Regions from separate parts of the Homo sapiens genome. Here region 2 is linked to region 1. Evidence: promoter capture Hi-C in human tissues and cell types (Jung and others, 2019). All regions are on one chromosome and are shown on one strand. The core of a region is centred on a gene start or on the middle of the fragment in contact, and the rest is flanking DNA. Distances in the headings are between cores, read along the strand shown. Region 1 holds the start of CCL21 (C-C motif chemokine ligand 21). Region 2 overlaps PHF24 (PHD finger protein 24).

Region 1 (3,927 bases), core at 465-2,964:
CATAGCAGGCTGGGCGCAGTGGCTCATGTCTGTAATCCCAGCACTTTGGGAGGCCAAGGTGAGCGGATCATTTGAGGTCAGGAGTTTGAGACCAACCAGGCCAACATGGTGAAACCCCATCTCTACAAAAAATAGAAAAATTAGCTGGATGTGGTGACAGGTGCCCATAATCCCAGTTACTCGGGAGGCTGAGGCAGGAGAATGGCTTGAACCCGGAGGGTGGAGGTTGCAGTGAGCCAAGATCACGCCACTGCACTCCAGCCTGGGCGAAAGAGTGAGACTCTGTCTCAAAAAAAAAAAAAAAAAAGTAACAACATTGCCAGGTATGCTGGTTCACACTTGTAATCCCATTACTTTGGGAGGCCAAGGCGGGTGAATTGCTTGAGGTCAGGCGTTCGAGACTAGCCTGGGCAACATAGTGAGACCTCGTGTCTACAAAAAATACAAAAATTAGCCAGGCATGGTGGCCCCACTACTCAGGAGACTGAGGTGGAAGGATCACTTGAGCCCAGGAGGTCGAGGCTGCTGTGAGCTGAGATTGTGCCACCGCACTCCAGCCTGGGTGACAAAGCGAGACCCTGTGTCAAAAAAAAAAAAAAAGATAAAAGCTAGTATTGTATTTTTAGTTTGTAGCCCCACTTTTTTCTATATAATTTAAAAGGAAAATGCATTAAACAATAATTATAAATCTATGTCAATGGGAACACAATGTATAAAGATGTAATCTGTGACAATAACAATATAAAGAAGGGACTAAAATGTATACGAGCAAAATGTTTATATACCATTGAAACTAAGTTGGTATTATTCAAACTAGGTTGTTATCAGTTTAGAATGTTAATTATAATCACCAAGGTATCCATTAGGAAAATAACTACAAAATATATAGAAAAGGAAAGCAAAGGGGAATCAAAATGGTTATGCTACAGACCAGGTGCAGTCGCTCATACCTATAATTCCAGCACTTTGGGTGGCCAAGGCAGGAGGATCGCTTGAGCCCAGGAGTTCAAGACCAGACTGGGCAACATAGCAAGACCTCATCTCTAGAAAAAATAAAAATGAAAAATGAAAACAGTAGCCGGACGTAGTGGCATGTGCCTGTGGTCCCAGCTCCTCAAGAGGCTGAGGCAGGCAGATCATTTGAGCCCAGGAGCTCAAGACTAGCCTGGGCTAGACATCGTGAAACCTCGTCTCTACAAAAAAAAAATAGAAAAATCAGCCAGGCGCAGTGGTGCTTGCCTGTAGTCCCAGCTCCTGGGGAGGTTGAGGTAGGAGGATCACTCGAGCCCAGGAGGCGGAGATTTCAGTGAGCCAAGATCAACCACTGCACTCCAGCCTGGGTGACAGAGTTAGACCCTGTCTCAAAAAAAAAAAAAAAAAAAAGAACTCTTACAATTTAATAATCAGATTTGCTGGAAGGAGGGGAAGGGTATGGATCCTGGAGCGTAGTGAGGAGACAGTCATGGTGTTCCAGGGGAGAGGCAGTGAGGCCTGCATGAAAGCAGTAGCTGGGAATAGAAGGAAGGCTCAGGCCCAGACATATTCAACTAATGAGGACATAAAATTTGGCAGCTGAGGACTGTCCACTTAGTTTGAGATAAGTGGGGCTGGGTGCCAGCAAATCCAGCTTTCAGGAAGGAAAAGGAGTGGGGATAAGTTAAGGGAAGTGAAAGTGTCTAGCTACATAAATAGCAGGCCAATCCCAGCCCACGCACAGACCCCCAACTTGCAGCTGCCCACCTCACCCTCAGCTCTGGCCTCTTACTCACCCTCTACCACAGACATGGCTCAGTCACTGGCTCTGAGCCTCCTTATCCTGGTTCTGGCCTTTGGCATCCCCAGGACCCAAGGTACCAAGGCAGGGAGGGGCCTTGCATGGGGCTAAGGGGATCAAGAGGCCTGGATAGGAGCTTGCCAGCAGCCCCTGGCTCCCTGTGAATCCCACCCTGCAGGCAGTGATGGAGGGGCTCAGGACTGTTGCCTCAAGTACAGCCAAAGGAAGATTCCCGCCAAGGTTGTCCGCAGCTACCGGAAGCAGGAACCAAGCTTAGGCTGCTCCATCCCAGCTATCCTGTGAGTGGACACAAAGGGGTGGGTACTGGCTGGTGACGGGGTGGGGAGGGCATGGTGGGCAAGACTAAGAAGGCTTACTAGCCCCCACCCGCAGGTTCTTGCCCCGCAAGCGCTCTCAGGCAGAGCTATGTGCAGACCCAAAGGAGCTCTGGGTGCAGCAGCTGATGCAGCATCTGGACAAGACACCATCCCCACAGAAACCAGCCCAGGGCTGCAGGAAGGACAGGGGGGCCTCCAAGACTGGCAAGAAAGGAAAGGGCTCCAAAGGCTGCAAGAGGTGAGGAATCTGAGGGATGTGGGTAAAGGGGAGCCTCAGTCAGCCCCTCACACCCCTCTTCTGCCCTCACAGGACTGAGCGGTCACAGACCCCTAAAGGGCCATAGCCCAGTGAGCAGCCTGGAGCCCTGGAGACCCCACCAGCCTCACCAGCGCTTGAAGCCTGAACCCAAGATGCAAGAAGGAGGCTATGCTCAGGGGCCCTGGAGCAGCCACCCCATGCTGGCCTTGCCACACTCTTTCTCCTGCTTTAACCACCCCATCTGCATTCCCAGCTCTACCCTGCATGGCTGAGCTGCCCACAGCAGGCCAGGTCCAGAGAGACCGAGGAGGGAGAGTCTCCCAGGGAGCATGAGAGGAGGCAGCAGGACTGTCCCCTTGAAGGAGAATCATCAGGACCCTGGACCTGATACGGCTCCCCAGTACACCCCACCTCTTCCTTGTAAATATGATTTATACCTAACTGAATAAAAAGCTGTTCTGTCTTCCCACCCAAGTACCTGTTCCCATGTGTTTATGTCCACCGAGATGCCAAGGTTCCTACAGGGTGGGGTCACACACTCTGAGCCGAAAGCTCAGGCTGAAAAATGCTATGTTCTCATCTACCCCAAGAGTTTCCTTGCCTCTCAGGTGCCTGCACCCCTGAGCAGTTAAAGGGAGGCTGAAGGACAGGGTAGGACCCAGTCTTCTGAGGCATCCTGCCAATGGAGAGGTGGTGGACATGGAGCACACACCCCCAACAGCTCTGCAGACCTCTGAGACCCTGATTCTGTCCTGCACTAACTCCAGGGGTGACCTTCGGATCTTTTCCATGACCTTCAGACCTTTCCCCAGATATCCCAGAGGCTTCCTCTCTTTTCCCTGGGAACTATTCAATGAGACCCTCCAAGTGGTTCTTTGGAAGGGTCCCTAGGAGGGAAGCTGTGGCTTGGGCCCATCTATAACACAGACAAACACAAGTTATATTGAAACCTGCCCTAGCACAGTTCCAGCCCTGAGAGAGCCCCTGGGAGGCAAAGACCCGAGGGGACTTGCTTCAGCCCTATTCAGTGAAGCTCGGGCCTTGACCTCTCCTCTTTGTTTAATGGGGCTGTTGTGCTCTCCTTCTATTCCTATCTGGGCCCCTGGACTCACTCAGCCTCCTTCCAGATGGAAAAACCTCCTCCCTTTTTTTTTCCTCCTTTCTTTCCTGGCTGGGATCCAGACTACTTTAGCCCATTTAACCCTTTGAAGTCAAGGAATAAGTCTCCTGGGGCAGGTTTTCAGAACCCCAGGATTCAGGTGTGAATCAGTCTCCTCTCCTGGAAGGCCTCAGATGGCTCTCCTCTACCTCTTCCTCCCCAGAGTGAAGACCCTTCTATTCCCCAAATCACCTCCAGGCGGGGAGAGTAGAAGCCATCAGATTGGGCCAGACAATGTGAGAAAGAAGGGAACAGATCCTGGGGAAGGGCAAGAAAGGTAGGAACCTCAAGGCCGGGCGCGGTGGCTCAGGCCTGTAATCCCAGCACTTTGGGAGGCCAAGGCAGGCGGATCATGAGGTCAGGAGTTCCTGACCAGCCTGGCCAACATGGTGAAACC
Region 2 (3,927 bases), core at 931-3,430, 270 kb before region 1:
AGGGGTGAGTAGAGACCCCCTCCTCTATACCAGGGGCTTCACAAAGGGACTTTGGTCCTTTCTCAACCAAAAAGAACCAGGCTTCTGAAGGCATGGACAGCTGGGCAGCATGTGCACATGTATATAAGTGTGGTGGCAGGTCCCGTCTATGATGTGGGGCAGGGGCGGTCCAGGAGAGGATGCTGCCACAGCTCCCAGGGCTTCTCCTTGTGGCAATGCATTCACTGCCTCTATTGTGAGGGGAATGGTGATTTCAGTGCCTTAAAGCTTAGTGACAAGTTAAGACGCTGGCAGTGTCCCAACCCCATGAGTCTCTGTGCCAGAGGTTGGTGGGGGAAGGGAGAAAGGAAAGGAGGGAGAGGATGTCACTGTCCTCAAACCGAGCTTCTCTGCTCCATGCTATCCTGGGGGCTTCAGGTGAATGGCTGCGCTGTTGGGGCGAGCAGCCAGGATGTAGAGGACATTCTCTTGCAGGAAGGTAGGCCAGTCCACAAATCTGGAGTGGAAGCAAAGAACAGAGTCGTGAGGCTGGTTTGAAGACACGTGAGCCCTGATCCCAGGGGCAGCATGGCTTGAGGAGGCTGGTTTGAAGACGCGTGAGCCCTGATCCCAGGGGCAGCATGGCTTGAGCTACACAAAACTCAGGGAAGCTTGGCTCATGCCTGACCTGGCTATGGCTGGCTGTGCTACCAGGCCAACAGACCAGCTGGCTGGTCCTATAGACTTGGGTCAAATGTGCACTCTTGGAGCCTGGTTTCTTGGGTGGGCGCTTGCTGTTTTGGAGTGGGAGTGGGTAATGCCCTCTCTTACTTGTGTGTTTTGTGGGGGTTCAGAGGGTACAAATGGCCAGGTGAGGAGGTCCTACTCACCTGGACTCCTGCTCTGTGGGCAGCAGGGTCTTGTCCTGACTCTTGCTGCTGCTGCTGGCTGGGCTGCTATCTGCGATGGGACCCACATGGCTGATGCTGCTGGGCATGAGGACACGTGGTTAGGAGTGGGATAGTGAAATGCCTGCCCCCTCCCAAACTCTGGTAAGCCCAAGGCTCTGGACATGCTCATCCAGGCTCTTCTGACATGTGGCAACACCGAGTTGAAGGCAGAGGCTGTCCTATGCCCTGGCCCGTAGGCATCACCATCCTCTACCTAATGCACAGGAGGCTCCTCTCTCGGCTGTTGGCAGGGGGAGCAGGGAGGTATGGAAGGGCCACTGGCATGGAAAAGGGAGGAGGAGAGGCTGAGTGGGGACCAGGACTGGTAAGGAGCAGACCTGACACTGCAGGAAGGAGCCTCTGGGAACCGTTTGCAAAACCAAGAGTGCTGGGCCCGGCGGCACTCTGCCTCACTGACGGTGCTCCCACTGCCCCGAGCCAGGAAGGCGGCTCGGGCTCGCTCCCGCTCCTTCACTGTCAGAAGCCTCAACAGAGAGTTCTGGGGAAGAAGAGACAAGATCTTAGAGGTGAAGATATCTTGTAAACTGCCAAGCCATAGAGAATCCTATCTCCATTACCACCTTTGCAACCTCCCTTAGAAGCTGCCCAGAGCCCTTCTGGAGGCATCAGCACTTCCAGTGCGGCCCAGGGCAGATCAGTCTTCCTCACGCAGTTTCCTCAGCCTGGGCACCAGATCATCTGTCACTGGATGGAACCTGAGCCCATTCCTGATACTTGTCCCTGCTTGAGCAGGACCCAGTGCTCCCCCAATCTGCCCAGCGTGCCTCCCAGGCCCTTGTCACCCAGTATCCCAGGAACATTTGCCCCAACTGGCCCTCACCTGGGGACGCAACTGCTGCAGAAGCAGGAGGGACTCATGGGACAAGAAGTCAGGCCACTCTATGTGGCCTCGATGTTCAGGGTCCAGGGCAGCAAACTGGCGGGCCGCCTGCTCTTCTTGCTCCTCACTCAGGGCCCTGTCACGGTCCCCCCGCTTGGCTGCTTGGTGGCGGTAACGCAGAAAGTCCTCCAGTGTCAGGGAGCAATCTGTGGGAGGCACCCCGTGCTAGCCATGCCCATCCTTCCTCAGCCTCAGGGCACCTCCATCACCTCCAGGGCACCCTCGGGGCCCCCAAACCCACAGCTCTTGCTAAGTCTCTGCCTCCCATGGCCAGGGTCACCCAGGCTGTGACAGGGATAGGTGACTCTGCTGGCCAACAACTCAGGAACAAGGACTCATTTACCCTCTACCCACTAAATATGGAACACTCCTTTCATGGTTCATTCTAGAAAGCCTGAAGGAGAAATCTGCCCGGCCCCTCTCCATCCATGCAGCACCACCCAACCTTACCAGGGATGACTTTACACCGCTGAAAGGTCTCCGTGAGGCTATACATTTCCTCCTCAGTAAGCAGCAAGTTGATGTTGTCCTGAAAATAAGGAAGAGCTGAGTCGGTGGCCATACAGGCCAGTAAGAAAGGCCAGGGTCAAGGGGGCTAGAAATAGAATTTCAACTGGAAAGCAGTTCCAAGATCATCTAATCCCAGCCTCCTATTCACAATCAATGAGATTGAGGCCCCAGAGAGGAGAAAGGACTTGGCCAGAGTTGTCTTTACTCTGGGGCAGAATCTTCCCCAAGAACCCAGATATCCTGACTCCAGCACTGAGTCCCTTTACTAAAACAGTGGTTTTCTCCTCTGAGCTAACCTAGGGATTTCTTGGAAGTGCCTTAGGAAGCTGCTGCAGGGAATAAGGGGGCTAGTGAGTAGGCAGGTTGTGAATCCCTATCTCCATCAAGCAGAGCGGCTCCATCTCCATCCCTTTTATCTACTTGGCTTCTGTGTTAGGCTGTGCTAAAAATGTATTTTAGTTAAAAAAAAAAAAAGTTTAATCCTAGCTCTGCTCCAAGTGGGTTGTATCACTTTAAATAACCCCAGAATGGTTTTAAAAGATGCCATTATTACAAGGCTCCTAAAGCCAAATGAGTTTTTTTGTAGTGCCACAGAAGTTTTAATTCCAAAGGAGCACCAATATCTTATTGTGTTGACGTTACCATACAGTCTTTAAACTATCAAAGATCCTTTCTAGTACAAGGTCATTTTCTTCCTCTGAGATACCCGCAAAGTACAAGAGCAGATATTTCATGAGTATTCATACGTGGATTTCATAAAGAACTCAAACCATTCTTTTTCTTCCATAACACTTTTTAAAAACTAATATATAATAGTTGTATTTTTCTTTCAAACCATACTTTCAATAAACACCTACTGAGCACCTAGTAAACACTGGGCGCCACAGTGGTGTGTAACACTGTGAGATGTTCAGTGTGGCTGAGGTTTGGAGTACATGTGAGTGTGTGTGTGAGGGAAGGAGGGGGCCTACTATGAAGTACCTCCAATACCCTTTATCGAGCCCCTCAAATTAGGCCTTTATTCTGAGGGCAAAAGGGAGCCACCAAAGGGTTTTCAAGTGGGGAGTGCCGTGGTCAGATCTCTGGCTGCTGTGTGGAAGATGGATTAGAGCGGCAGAGTCTGGAGGTGTGGAGAGCAGTTGGGGGCTGCCGCAACAGTCCAGGCAAGAAATGATGAGCAGCTAAACTGAGACATGAGAATGAAGAAGGGAAGAGAGATATTAGAGGCAGCATCATCAGGACCTGATGACTCACTGGATGTGAGGCATGAGGGAGAGATTGAACTGGAATTGGTAACTGGGGCATGGTATTACTATTCACAGAGATAAGGAGTGGAGGAAGAGCAGGTTTGGGGGCAAAGATGAGTTCATTTTGGGGCATGATGAGTGTGAAGTACTTGTGAGATATCAAGGTGGATAAGTGCAAGAGACAGGAAATTTAGGTCTGGACACACAGAAATAGGAGTCATTAGTGTTTAGATGGTGGCTGTAGATGAAGTCACCAAAGAGGGCGCAGTGAGAAAAGAAGAGTATTAAACAACAGAACCCTGAGAAACAGGACTGAGACAAGAAACTAACAAAGGGCATT

The links. The method cuts DNA at HindIII sites, captures the fragments that hold promoters and counts their contacts. A contact is called where the count stands out against the background at its distance.
Region 2: a contact is called between a fragment that was not itself captured here and the fragment with the promoter of CCL21 in region 1, in 1 of the 25 tissues and cell types used here (dorsolateral prefrontal cortex).

What each region holds. Positions count from the first base shown.
Region 1 is chr9:34,707,923-34,711,849 of GRCh38, reverse strand. It overlaps CCL21 (C-C motif chemokine ligand 21), which reads left to right and starts at 1,714. Exons shown (of 4, transcript NM_002989.4): 1 at 1,714-1,850; 2 at 1,953-2,073; 3 at 2,168-2,350; 4 at 2,423-2,845. The coding sequence starts at 1,784. The coding sequence ends at 2,456. It also overlaps a transcript of PHF24 not described here. The HindIII fragment of the contact is 9,492 bases long and covers 1-3,927 here.
Region 2 is chr9:34,974,584-34,978,510 of GRCh38, reverse strand. PHF24 (PHD finger protein 24) reads right to left here. Exons shown (of 8, transcript NM_015297.3): 4 at 2,281-2,359; 5 at 1,771-1,976; 6 at 1,268-1,428; 7 at 870-965; 8 at 1-496. The coding sequence ends at 400. Among named protein-coding and RNA genes, the nearest start is that of DNAJB5-DT, 13 kb to the left of the region's middle. The HindIII fragment of the contact is 7,622 bases long and covers 1-3,927 here.